Regions from separate parts of the Homo sapiens genome. Here region 2 is linked to region 1. Evidence: promoter capture Hi-C in human tissues and cell types (Jung and others, 2019). All regions are on one chromosome and are shown on one strand. Each heading gives the region's core, a stretch centred on a gene start or on the middle of the fragment in contact. The rest is flanking DNA. Distances are from core to core; before and after follow the strand shown. Region 1 holds the start of PSMD11 (proteasome 26S subunit, non-ATPase 11). Region 2 overlaps ZNF207 (zinc finger protein 207).

Region 1 (6,683 bases), core at 1,409-3,908:
ATCTCTTTTATGCCATTTATAATGATTGAAAGTCCAGTCTAGCCTAAAGCAAAACTTTAATTTCATATCTAACTTAAAGCTTTTCCCCTGTCTCTAAGTCTCAGGCAGTTGAAAATTTGTGTTTGGTCTGCAGTTTCACTCTTTTCATTCTCCACCCTCTCACTCTGCTGTTTCTGGGTTTCCTCCAGGGTGGAGGAGGTTTTGGTGAAAGCAGAGAAGTAGGAGGAATTAAAAGAGGTCAAGGTCTCTTCTCTTACATGACTGATGACGTCAGAGGCAGAGACCCAGGTGCTGGTTCTTTCTCGTTGGGAGCATTTATGTATTCTTGTGTTCTTTGGAGGATCTACCTGTGGATCTCAAGACTCCCATCAGTGACTGCCTCCTGAAGTCCACACTTCCATCAACTTATTTCTGGGTCTCCTTACACTAGCATACGGTCCTACTGAATAGGTTCCTTTAAGAAGGTCCCGGATGATCTACCTTTTCAGCATCCTCTTGGCTCATAAGAACCTTGCCATGTCAAACACAGGGAGTGGAAGCTACCCTATTGTTGCCTTTTCTCCCTGTCCTATTGTAGAGTGTGCCAGCCAGCTTCCCTAATTCAGAATTCTGCAGGCTAGAAGTGGGTGCCCATCTTCATGAATGTGCACACATGCCAAACTCCTCAAGAGACATGTCTAGTTCATCTCAAAACTTTCACCATGATGATCACACAGGGATGGGCTCATAAGTTTCCACAGTCAGCAAGACTCACTAGCTTGGGAGAAAGATCTGGCAGACACTCCTAGTCTTTTACAGTGGGGGTCCCCAACCCTGGGCCAAGGACCACTACTGGTCAGTGGCCTGTTAGGAATCAGGCCTCACAGCAGGAGGTGAGCGGCTGGGGAGCCAGCATTACTGCCTGAGCTCCGCCCCCTGTCAGATCAGCTGCAGCATTATATTCTCATAGGAGGCAAACCCTATTGTGAACTGAGCATGCCAGGGATTTAGGTTGCCTGCTCCTTATGAGAATCTAATGCCTGATGATCTGAGGTGGAACGGTTTCATCCCAAAACCATCCCCCCTCCTCACATCCGTGGAAAAATTGTCTTCCACAAAACTGGTCCCTGGTGCCAAAAATGTTGGGGTCCACTGTTTTATGGTACTCCCTCTTTGTAGTGAGGCCAGCACTCTATCCTCTCCTATGATTTCTTCTAAAGCCTCCCACCTCAGCCTCCCAAGTAGCTGAGACTACAGGCGTGCGCCACCATGCCCGGATAATTTTTGTATTTTTAGTAGAGTCGGGGGTCTATGTTGCCCAGGCTAGTCTCAAACTCCTGGGCTCAAGCGATATGCCCACCTCGCCCTCCCAAAGTGCTGGGATTACAGGCATGAGCCACCGCGCCTTGCTAGAAGCCATTTAATCCAACTCTCCATCAAAGTCATGAATCCTGTTTACAACAACCTGATGAGATGTCAACTACTTTTCACGTGAACACACCCAGGAATTAGGAAGGCATTCCCTAACCGGCAGCTCTTATCTCTCCCAATCACGATTTGAGCTTCACCAAATAACTCAAACCCCTGTTTCCTCACATATTAAAGGGGAGTAAATATCTGCTTTACAGAACATTGTTGGGAGAATAAAAGGAGATAGAGGAATATAAATGGCCTAATCCACTTACAGAGGAGGGTGTGCAATGTTAGTCCCCTTTTTGCCTCCTTTTATGGGACAGCACATTCCATTTTTGGATCGTCATCACCTAGAGAAAGGTCTTCCTTAATACTGAATTGTCTTTGTATCCTTTTAGCACCTTTCTTAAGTTTAACCCTAAGTGGTCTCATAGAATGTCATTTTTCCGTCCACACGACGTCTTCACTGATATCTGTGACTTTAGTTGAAGGGGCTGAAGATATTGGGAAGAATAATTCAATTTTTTCCTTCCTCCGTCCCTCCCTCCCTCCCTTCCTTCCTTCCTTTTTTTTTTTTTTTCTTTGAGCTGGGGAGCTGGGTGAGGCTTCTGTGGATTCCCAAGAGGTATTTGTGGCGTGAATGGAGCAAAGGTGATGTTTCACTTCATCACGTCCAGCACTGTCCCAAGGTTAAATGGGCGCGTGAGGACAGTTTTCTCCGGTCCTGGCGGGTTTGCCCACCTGCCGGCCAGCGTTCTGCGGGAGTCAAGCCTGGAAAGCGTGTGTGCGGCGCACAGGCGTCAGACACTGGAACGCATTCGAATGGTGCTATTCTTTGCCACATAGCGAGCACTTTATAAGGTCACTTATCGTCCCGAATGAATGGTTAAATCGTGGAAGCCGCAAAGAAAGCCACGCAGCTTTGACTCAATACCTAGCCCAGTACTCAGGAACCCCTCTCAGGGGTGCGCGAGCGGGGCCGGAATCAAGAAGCCTCTTTTGGGGTGGGCGGGGACCGATCTAGAGCTCCCACTGCGGGGCACCGCCTCTTTTCCTCGCCGGCCGCCCGCTAGGAGGCGCTGGGGAGCTTGCAGCCCACCTGCGAGGCGGTCCCGCTCTCCCCACCCCTCAGCCCGCGCCCGGCGGAGAGACTACAACTCCCGGAGTGCTCTGGGAACGGAGCCACGGGAGCTACAGGCGGAGGGACCCGAGGGCGGGCTTTCCGGGTGTGTGTTTCCGGCGTCGGCGGCCGCGGCCGGGGACGGTGTGAGAGCGGTAAGATGGCGGCGGCGGCGGTGGTGGAGTTCCAGAGAGCCCAGTCTCTACTCAGCACCGACCGGGAGGCCTCCATCGACATCCTCCACTCCATCGGTAAAGGTCGCCGCGCCGCCTCCCCGGCCCCGCCGGCCCAGCTCGGCTTATGTCGGTCGGCGGCAGCGGAGAGGGGCCCGGCTAGCCGGCTCTGATGCTGCTGACTCACTGTGTGAGGGGGGCCGGGCCGGGGGCGCAGGCCGCTCGGAGCTCCCCAGAGCCTCCCAGGTCTCACTCTTGTGGGAGGGCTTGAGGCAATCCCCGGGTCCCCTCGCCGGCTGCTGACTCACGGGGGGCTCAGCGTAGGGTGGGAGAGTGGGCCGAGCCGGGCCCCCGGGGATCCCTCCCTAGCCATGTCCCCGGCTCTGGCCCGCACGAGCTGGTCTGGGACCCGGAGCAGTGCCGGCCGGCGTGCTTGTCACGGACTGGTCCTAGAGTCTCTACTTGAAAGGCCTTGGCGAAACCAGCTCTGGACAGGCATTTCCCGCCGTTGTAATCAGCACAGCCTGCTCCGGGTGGGAGCGCGAGCGCTTGCTCTTCTCTGGGAGTTTCCTTCCACGGGACGCTGGGAGCTGCTACTCCTCAGCCCCACGGCAGAAAGCTCCACTAAGAGGAGGGTCTCTTTCAGAATGTGGGAAATTCAGGGGTGACACACACCTCAGATTGGCATTTGGTTTGTGGAGGTGGCCGAGACGCTCATCTGCTCTGTGTAGGGTGTAAGAGTGAGGTGTTGGAGCGGGACCGCCTGGCTAGAGGAGGTGACTAATCTTTCCAGACTGCCTGTAGGGGTTGGAAGTGAGTTAAGGGAGTTAGTTGTCAGCCGCGGAGTTCAGGGAATTCTTTGGAACGGGTCGGCTGCATGTTGCCGGAAAAATTAAAATTTCTTAACGCTGTAATAACGATGGTCTTACACCTACACACAACAGGAAAACTGAAATGGGAATCCCAGCCAGTCGCTTCCGGCAGCTTTCTGTTGGGATTCAAGTGTGAACAGAAATTTATTACGACAGAAGAAGACGTTAATGTTCACTCATAAAGGATTCAATTAGGGCTTGGACTAGCTCTTCACTGCACATGTAATGGCATCTTTGTAGTGTAGTTTGGGAAGATCTGAATTGGCTCAACAAGTAGTATGAGAATGCACCTGTATGTGGGACTTGCAAGATGTTGGCATTTGACTTAGTGTGTTGAATTTTGGTATTCCAGACCTGCACGGAGAAAGGACAATGACAAGATCTTGATACTTTATCATTGGGGATACTAGAGAAGGAGAGGAAGTGGGCGTCAAGGTGTATCTTTGAATGATATTGGTAAAAGGTGTTTCATTTTAAAAGTTCTGATCTTAGGTCAGTTACTTCTACGGAACCAGAGTCATCTCAATCACCGTTACATGGATATTTTATTCTGAGTACACACTATTATTTAGAACTAATGTGAGGAGCATGAATTTTAATAGTCTGTGTCTAGTGTCTAATATTTTTTCTTTCATAAAGTAGAAATTACGTCAAATATTACAATTAGAGTATTTCCTGTTGGCCCACTATTCTAGGGGAGAGTTCCCTGAAAGCTTCACTGTTAGAGCAAGCTTGAGTCATGGTGGTTGACGGCCTTACTTTTTCTGGACTCCATCATGGTTTTTGTCAAGTCATGATGCTTTGTAAGAGTAGTAGTAACTAGTGATGATCACTACAAACTTGGAGAGGCTATTCCATGTTTGAATGTTAAAATAGTTATTAACTGTTGAAAATAGGACAGATAGCACAAAGTTATTTTAACAGACCTCAATGCATTAAAAAGCAGCAGTCTCCCCTAAGTGTAGCTGTGCAGGATCTGGGGCTTTGATAGAGTTGTTTTTCTTGAATGGCTTTATAGACCTGCTTATCCCTAACACACCCATCAGCTGAGGCTTTGCACAGACCTAAAGTTTATTGAAACGCTTTTGACTTACAGGCATCAGTAACTTGGTCAATTGATTTTAGTTTGTGGCATAAACGCACAGGCATGTTTAATATCTTCCCATAAAATAGTGACTGGAACAGATCTTGGCACCATAAGTATGAAGGATTTGTTTTGTTTTAATTTCACTTTAACCAAGTGACCACAACAGAAACTTAGTGTATGTAGGTAAGCAAAATTCTGCTGGGTAGAATGAAAAGGCACATTTAAAATCAAAGAGAAGAATCCTTTTTTTATGATTTACATGGAGCATATTCTACGTATATATGATCTTTTTTTTTTCCTGGCTTAGAGTTTTTTTTTTTTTTTTAACTCTAGAATTTGTCTTTTGGTAAATATGTTTGAGTTTGTAATGGATCTTATGAGGGTGAAATTTCCCTCAGTCTTCATTTTTTGGTCAGAATTTTAAGAGGGTTTGCATTTTCCTCTCCCAGTGAAGCGTGACATTCAGGAAAACGATGAAGAGGCAGTGCAAGTCAAAGAGCAGAGCATCCTGGAACTGGGATCTCTCCTGGCAAAGACTGGACAAGCTGCAGGTAAGTGCTACACATGGATTGTATCTGAAATGCTCAGTGAAATTCCTGTCTTTTGTTGGAGTGAAGAATCATGGGACTGATCCACAAACTGAATTCAGCTTTATTTTCTTGGCAACTTGTTGAGCTTCAGTTTTTTAGCAGGCAATTAAGTGGCCTTTAAACTCACTTCTTTCCTGGTAGTTTAGTTTTGCAAATGAGAGACAATCTTATTTTTGTTGGGATATAGTGATTTCTGATTTGTTTCTGGTTTTTGAATTCTCACTGTATTCCCTTACATAGAGGCAGCAACAGTCTTCAATAATTTCACTGAGCAACTCTGATGTATTTAAGATAGATAACAACTTTAAGCGCCTGATTTAAAAATGACAAAGGATTTTGTATCCAAGTGACTCACTGTCATTTTTTTTTGATAGATTCAGAATGAGAATGAATAAGACATTAAATGGAGCCTTCCCAAGACTTCTGCATTCATACCTAGGACTTTGTGCACATCATTGCTCAAACATTCTAGTTGTAATTGAACCATTGACTGATTAGATTTGACATAATATTCTGATGATGGGTGTGTCCTTGGAATGAGAAGGGAGTCCTTTTGATCAGGAAGGACCTTTTACCAGTAAAGTGGTAATAGTATTTAGAGAGAAGTCTGTTTAAACTTAAATGGGTGATTTTTGTCAAGTTTAAAGTGAATTTAGAGCTTATTTGATTAGATTGGATTAAGATCTGGTAAGTGACCTCATGAATTATTTTCCCTAAAATTATGTTGTTCAAGAGAATGATGGGGGTTAGTTAGCACAACTTCTTCAACTTGAGAACTAAAGATTTTTTTTTTCTTTTTCTTTTTTTTTTTTTGAGACGGGGTCTTGCTGTGTCACCCGGGTTGGAGTGCAGTGGTGCGATCTTGGCTCACTGCAACCTCCGCCTCCTGGGTTCAAGCGATTCTCCTTCCTCAGCCTCCGGAATAGCTGGAATTACAGGCACGCGCCACCAAGCCTGGCTAATTTTTGTATTTTTAATAGAGACGAGGTTTCACTGTGTTGATCAGGCTGGTCTTGAACTCCTGACCTCATGGTCCACCCACCTCGGCCTCCGAAAGTGCTGGGATTCCAGGTGTGAGCCATTGTGCCCGGCCAGTGATTTTTTTCAATTAAAGATAACTAACTTATTAATTATTAGGCTCAGTCTATAGAGCTGAATAAAGATGTATGAAATTGTGAGGATGTGTTTACATGGGCCTTATATCTTACTTAAAACATCATTAAGTAGCTATAAAAAGAACCATCCATAATGGTTTTTGAGTGCTATGAACTTTTTTTTTTTTAATTATTATTATTTTTGAGACAGAGTTTTGCTCTTGTTGCCCAGGCTGGAGTGCAAATGGTGCGATCTCGGCTCACTGCAACCTCTGCCTCCCAGGTTCAAGCGATTCTACTATCTCAGCCTCCCGAGTAGCTGGGATTGCCAGCATGCGCCACTATGCCCGGCTAA
Region 2 (6,683 bases), core at 2,112-4,611, 71 kb before region 1:
TTTTCATGTTTCATCTAGGTTTTTAGAAGTGAAGTATAGTAAATTTGGTTCGTTAAATTGTGAAGGCGCTGGAATTACATGAACATACCACCCTAGTAAAGGCAAGTTCTGTAAGCTTACATTGCTATTTGTAAAGTTTGCCTTCACAGCATTTCAGATGCTGTTGGACTTCATGTCCCCAACCTAGCTTGGTGAGGGCTGTAACTGTTTCCAAGTACTTGTACATTGGAAGTCTGAATGTGTAACAATATTTAATGTATTTAGAGTTCCTCATGTTGCAGGGTTTAAGAAATCTGACCCACCAAGGTCATGTGACTTTTCTGTACTGTTAAACTTCATTGTAATAAAATGAGAGAAAAATTTATGCCTTTTTATTCATAACCCAGCTGTGGACCACTGCCTGAAAGGTTTGTACAGATGCATGCCACAGTAGATGTCCACATAATAAAATTCATAGTTACCAATGCAGTTTTGATATATCATTGGATTCTGTCTTTGAGTTGTAGGTTATTTCTTAGCTGCATGTTTTAAACTGAATTTGCATAGAGTTGTATGTTAATGTTTCAGTTAAGAGAAAAACTTAAGATACATGAGTCATTACATAATGGGTATGAAATCTTTATAATCACCCTTCCACCCTCTATGGTGTCAGTACACATCACGTGTCATAGATACTTAAAATGTAAATGTTAACACTTTTCCTTCCTGCTGAGATGTTTAGAGCCTAGTGCCAGACCCATTCATTTCCTTTTGATTATTTTTGAGACTCAGTACTGCATGGACCTCAGAAGCTTTTCAGGTGCAAACTTCTAGAAGCTTAGGTGCATGCAGTAATAGCTTCTTGTGCTGTTAATGGGTTATTATATATTATTCTAAGTGTAATGCTGAGAATCTAAATGTGTCTCTGTTGGGATGGTTAACAGATGAATTGGCAATTTTTATTATGTTCCTGGAAGATTACATTATTCATTTGAGTACCTTCTGTTATTAAGCCTAGGTAGCCTTACTGTGCAACTTTTTATTTATCCTTGGAAATTTTGAATGTTGTGTTCTTACAGAGAGCTTTTCTGTAGAGATGACTGCTATTCAATATTTTGTGTTGCAACCTCTTAAAATAATAGCTCTTGTTGACCTTTTTGGGATCTGTTTTTCTGATCTTTTGCAGGGTAGTTTTATGATTTTTTAGGCATCAAATAACCTATGCAAAGTATTAATATAATGAACTCAAGTTGAGTTTTTCTCATTATAAAGTTAAGACTTCTAAGAAAATGGTAACATTTCTTTATAACTTTCCTGTGAAGGTATAGATAAAACACATGAAGTCTGAAGTTGTATGGAAAAAAGGGCTTTAACTTTGAAGGAAAATATATTGAAAAGTGATTTAGCCATCACAAAAGAGTTCGTATTTATGTGACAGATGAAAGTCATACCTTTAAGCAAAACATTGCAAGTATTATAAAGCTGAATGCTATTTTAACTCACATTGGCTGGGTGCAGTGGCTCACGCCTGTAATCCCAGCCCTCTGGAAGGCTGAGATGGGAGGATTGCTTGAGTCCAGGAGTTTGAGACCAGCCTGGCCAACATGGCAAAACCCCATCTGTACAAAACATTTAAAAATTAGCCAGGCGCGTTAGTGTGTGTCTGTGGTCCCAGCTGCTCAAGAGGCTGAGGAAGGAGGTTCTTCCTCCTTCCGAGGCTGCGGTGAGCTATGTTCACTCCAGCCTGGGCAACAGAGCGAGACTCTGTCAAAAAATAAATTAAAATATCTGATTATCTGGCTTCAATGATTTTGGCTCCTGTGCTTGTGGTACCATAGTGGTACAAAAATTTTCATAGTTTGAAAATAAAACAGGTATTTTGCCAGTAATGTATTTCTTTCTGCCAGCAGCCAAGTCCCAAACCACTTTCCCCTCTGAACCTCTGCTTACCTAAATGGTTTCAAAATTAATACATGCTGCTTTGATTTGGCAGCACACTTAATATACTGCTGAAGGAAAACTTGTGTTGAAAGTCTTTAAGATAAAAATGGTGTGATAGGCCGGGCGCAGTGGCTCACGCCTGTAATCCCAGCACTTTGGGAGGCCCAGGCGGGTGGATCATGAGGTCAGGAGATGGAGACCATCCTGGCTAACACGGTGAAACCCCGTTTCTACTAAAAATACAAAAAATTAGCTGGGCGTAGTTGCGGATGCCTGTAGTCCCAACTACTCTGGAGACCGAGGCAGGAGAATGGCGTGAACCCGGGAGGCATAGCTTGCAGTGAGCGGAGATCACACCACTGCACTCTAGCCTGGACGACAGATTGAGACTCCGTCTCAAAAAAAAAAAATGCTGTGATTAAATTTAGAATAATTAAGTAAGGGGTGCTCTCCCAAATTCTCAGGAATTTCATGTATACGGTTATTGACAAACTGCAATAGGGTTAGTAGACCTGTTTCAGAAATTATGTGAAGCTTTATTTGCATTTTATGCAAAGAAGGTTGATACTTTGTAGCAAGGTTTTTTGCTCTCTGTATAGGTCTGATGGGCAAAAATGGAACTTTTAAATATGGGATAGAATTCTAATTAAAAATTAATTGAAAGTGTTAGGCATTGGCAGATAAAACTTAAGCTCATGAGTTCCTGAGTTTGTAGCTATAGGCTCAGAGGTGGTGTACCCATTTAATATATTTGAAGTGTAATTTTTGCATGCATCCAAACGTAATTAAGCTTCTAGAAAATACCTTTTTTCTAAATGCTTCTGGGGTCCATAGTGTGGTTGAATTATGAGTGGAGCAAATTATATTCATATAATTAACTCTGACTCAACCTTCCTTAAGTAGTAGATGAAGTTGAGTCAAAGTGGATGCCAACTGCCCTCACAGAAGACAACTTTTGGGACTTGATAATTCAGGCAGGCATTGTGATTGTCATAATTAAGGAAGCTGTAAGGTTAGTAGGGCTGGCAACTTTGGCTCTACCTTACATCCACCCCTTTTAGAAAAACAAGAAAACATTTTGTCTGGCACTAGTTTCTGTTGTATAAGTTTTCATACTGTTTAACAAGACCACAGCAGGTAAGGATTAATTTTTGAGTGGCTGCTGGAATTACTTGATTTGAATACTTAGTATTTTAGTAGTGTCTCACACATTTGCCATTAGGTATGAATAAAATATTCCTACTGTACTCCTATTCCACTAAGTTACATTTTGAACTTAGACTCACCTTAATTAAACTTAATTAATTGGGGAGGGGGATTCCCCAACAAAAAGAAGTACGGGCTCAGAGTGGAATTGTAGTGGACAATAGTTAAAAACAAAGCTGCTCCTTTTGCTTGCTTGATCATTGGGATTTTTAAAAAAAAAAATTTTAATGCATGTCTTTTAAATTAATTGGGAACTGTTTTTCTAAAATTAAAATTTTCTTCTTCCTATAGCCCTGCCATAGGACAGGCTGAGGCTGAGTCTCAGTGTTGCCCTGTTCAGTCTGAGGCAAGTGGGATTTATTTTATTCCTTATAGGGGCTTTCACAGCTTTATGGCTGTTGGATATTTATGTCCCCAAACTTGCAGCAAGTTTGGTGAAGGCCCCTAAATTTAATTAAACTTAGGATTTTTATACTCTTTTGGCAGAGAAGGCTCTATATTAATATTCACGTTTGACTGTGGTGTTAATAAACATAAGTATTTCATATGCAATTTTATGTAATTTGCTGTGTGTTACATAATTAACAGCTTCAGTAAAGCTTGTGTTCCTATATTGAACTTCAATAAATTGACAAAATTTGATATTTTTGATTGGAGGCAAGAAATGTTTCATTCAAGTTTTTTACTTTCACTTCTAGGAAAATCTTACTGGTTTTATTTTCTCCATAAACTATTAAATTTAACCTCAAGGATAAGTTTAATCATTGGAAATGCCACTGGATACTGAAATGTGCCTTCTCTTTTTTGAGACGGAGTTTCACTCTTATCACCCAGGATGGAGTGCAGTGGTGCGATCTCGGTTCACTGCAACCTCTGCCTCCCGGATTCAAGTGATTCTCCTGCCTCAGCCTCCCGAGTAGCTGGGATTATAGGCTCCCGCCACCACATCTGGCTATTTTTTCAATATTTTTCAGTAGGGATGGGGTTTTGCCGTGTTGGCCAGGCTGGTCTCAAACTCCTGACCTCAGGTGATCCACCCATCTCAGCCTCCCAGAGTGCTGGAGTAGCAGGTGTGAGCCACCGCGCCTGGCCAAAATCTGCATTCTTTTTTTTTTTTTTTTTTTTTTTTTGAGACTGTCTCGCTGTGTCACCCAGGCCAGAGTGCAGTAGCACGATCTCAGCTCACTACAACCTCCACCTCCTGGATTCAAGCGATTCTCCTGTCTCAGCCTCCCGAGTAGCTGGGACTACAGGTGCTTGCCACCACACCCGGCTAATTTTTTGTATTTTTAGTAGAGACGGGGTTTCACCGTGTTAGCCAGGATGGTCTCGATCTCCTGACTTTGCGATCCCCCTGCCTCGGCCTCCCAAAGTGCTGGGATTACAGGCGTGGGCCACCGCGCTTGGCCAAAATCTGCATTCTTAATCACAAACTTACGCATTGAATGTTAAGGCTAAAAGGTCATCTGGAAATGCTTAATTTTAAAATATTTTCAAGCCTCACCACATTAGAGCAAATGTTAATGTAGAGCCCTGTAAAGGTGGGAAGGTGGTGTCTATGTGTGTGCTTGTGTATGTGGGGGTATAGACCATATAGTTGATATAACAACAGAATTTGGGTGTTACAGACCTTTCAGCATGGATGGATTACTAATTTTCAGGTATCGAAACTGAAATTTGATACCTGATCCTGTGGTAAAGTATGTTAAACTATGGTTTTGGAGTGATTATTTTGAGGTTCATTTTCAGCCTCACTGAACAGTGTTTTACGCACATGTGAAAAGTATCCACATTTGTTTCCAACTAAAATTTGCTTTTATTTGGTGAGAAAAGTTGTGTGCGTGTGTTTGTTGTAGGGAATAATTAGGGAATTGGAAGAGAGGCCAAAAACAAACCTGAATTACTTTTGTTTCTTGTGTTTGAGCCACGATTCTATCCAGATAGCAGTTTACTCTGAGCAGTAACAATGAACAAGCAGTATAGCATTTAGCAAACCTGGAATTGTTTGTATATGGTTTTCATTCTTGGAAGCATAAAGAAAAAATATGCATTAAATGAATTGTAAATTTTGACTTGTTAAATAACATGTTTTTCACTATAACTAATAGGATTTTAATATTTAAAGAATTTTGTTGCTTCCATGACAAAATATCCCATTGGACTATTTTATAACCTCAGTAATCAACATTTAAGAGTCCTTAATTGGAGATCTGTTTTCTCTATTACCTACCATCCTGCAATATGCTGAAATCTTTCTAAGTTGCTTATCTTAATTCTAATGGTGATAATTGAAAAAAGTGTGCTGGAAATACAGGCTCTTATCTGGTTGAGTACTGGGGGTGGGAAGGATTTAGTAATGTCATAATCTGTTGAAGGTAATATCTATAGATAACTAAGATAGTTCCTTTTTTTTTGTAGTTCTGTGACTCAGACAAATAAGATTTTGAGAATTATGTAGTTTTTAGGTGTCTGTAACATCCACTAGTAAAACTTGGCAAATGAAAGAAAATTGTGAAGTCACCACTTTAACTGAGTCAAAATTTTGTTTGAATAAGCTGATGAAAATAGACATGTACCCTAGAAGTAGATACTCTAAAATTATACAGACATGAATGTCTTTTTTAAAAGGTTGTCATTATTGACCTAATATTGAGTAATCTTTCTGCGTTATTCCAAATTGAAATTTGTTTGCTCTTCATTGTAACTTTTATGTAAAAGTCCTTTAAAAGGGGATTCAATTATAAGGCTATTTGACTATAGGGCAGATTTTTATAAGTAAACATTCCCCCAATTCCACTTATGCTAACTGTCTCATGACAGTAAAGTTTACTCCTTTTTAGAAACCCTTTCTCAGTATTTTAATTTCTGTCATTGAATCATTTAAATAATAACCTTTTGTTTTTATAGCAAAGAAATCATCTGACTTTTCTGTGTGATGTTTCTTGGCAAAATAAGCACTTGATGTATGGTCATGTACATAATGGATATTCATTAATTTTGTGATTAGTGCTGAGTTTTCTAAACTACTATCTTAAGCTCTTAGGCACCCTATTATGGATCTAATTCAAACCAATATGTAGGAAATGGAGAAAGTAGGACTTCAGTTTGCGCTTCCCAATAACTTTAAATATATCCACCTTTTCCAAGTGTTTAAGCCCTAAAACATCTATCTTTATTTTTTTACCTGGCATTTTTGTTAGAAAATAGATTACGTTTTAAAGTAACATTAAAAAAATTCTTCAGTAAGATAATTGCTTTTAATAAGTATATTTTTCTTGCTCTTGGCTCTATACATTTTTGCATAATATTTTAGTCTTGAAAAGCTTTTCATTTTCTTAACTCTGGAAAATAATAGTTTGGAACTAAATTAGTTTGAGAAATCTGAATCATCTCTCTTTAAATCTGTTCAGTTAGTCTCATGTATTCTCAGGGGAAAATGTCTTTATTTTACTAAGCGGAAGTAGTAGTCATATTGAGGCAGAAATTTGTAGCCCAAACAAGGTAGGTCTTCGCTGAAACTAATTTGAACTATTCCTATTTGAAGCAAATTGAACACT

What was found. Contacts are between HindIII fragments. The study calls those that stand out against the background at their distance.
Region 2: a contact is called between a fragment that was not itself captured here and the fragment with the promoter of PSMD11 in region 1, in 2 of the 25 tissues and cell types used here (mesendoderm cells and thymus).

What each region holds. Positions count from the first base shown.
Region 1 is chr17:32,441,852-32,448,534 of GRCh38, forward strand. It overlaps PSMD11 (proteasome 26S subunit, non-ATPase 11), which reads left to right and starts at 2,659. Exons shown (of 14, transcript NM_002815.4): 1 at 2,659-2,763; 2 at 5,094-5,195. The coding sequence starts at 2,673. RefSeq lists a silencer at 2,379-2,548 and enhancers at 2,440-3,055, 2,669-2,748. The HindIII fragment of the contact is 9,367 bases long and covers 1-6,683 here.
Region 2 is chr17:32,369,982-32,376,664 of GRCh38, forward strand. ZNF207 (zinc finger protein 207) reads left to right here. Exons shown (of 12, transcript NM_001098507.2): 12 at 1-6,683. Among named protein-coding and RNA genes, the nearest start is that of ZNF207, 23 kb to the left of the region's middle. The HindIII fragment of the contact is 3,452 bases long and covers 1,636-5,087 here.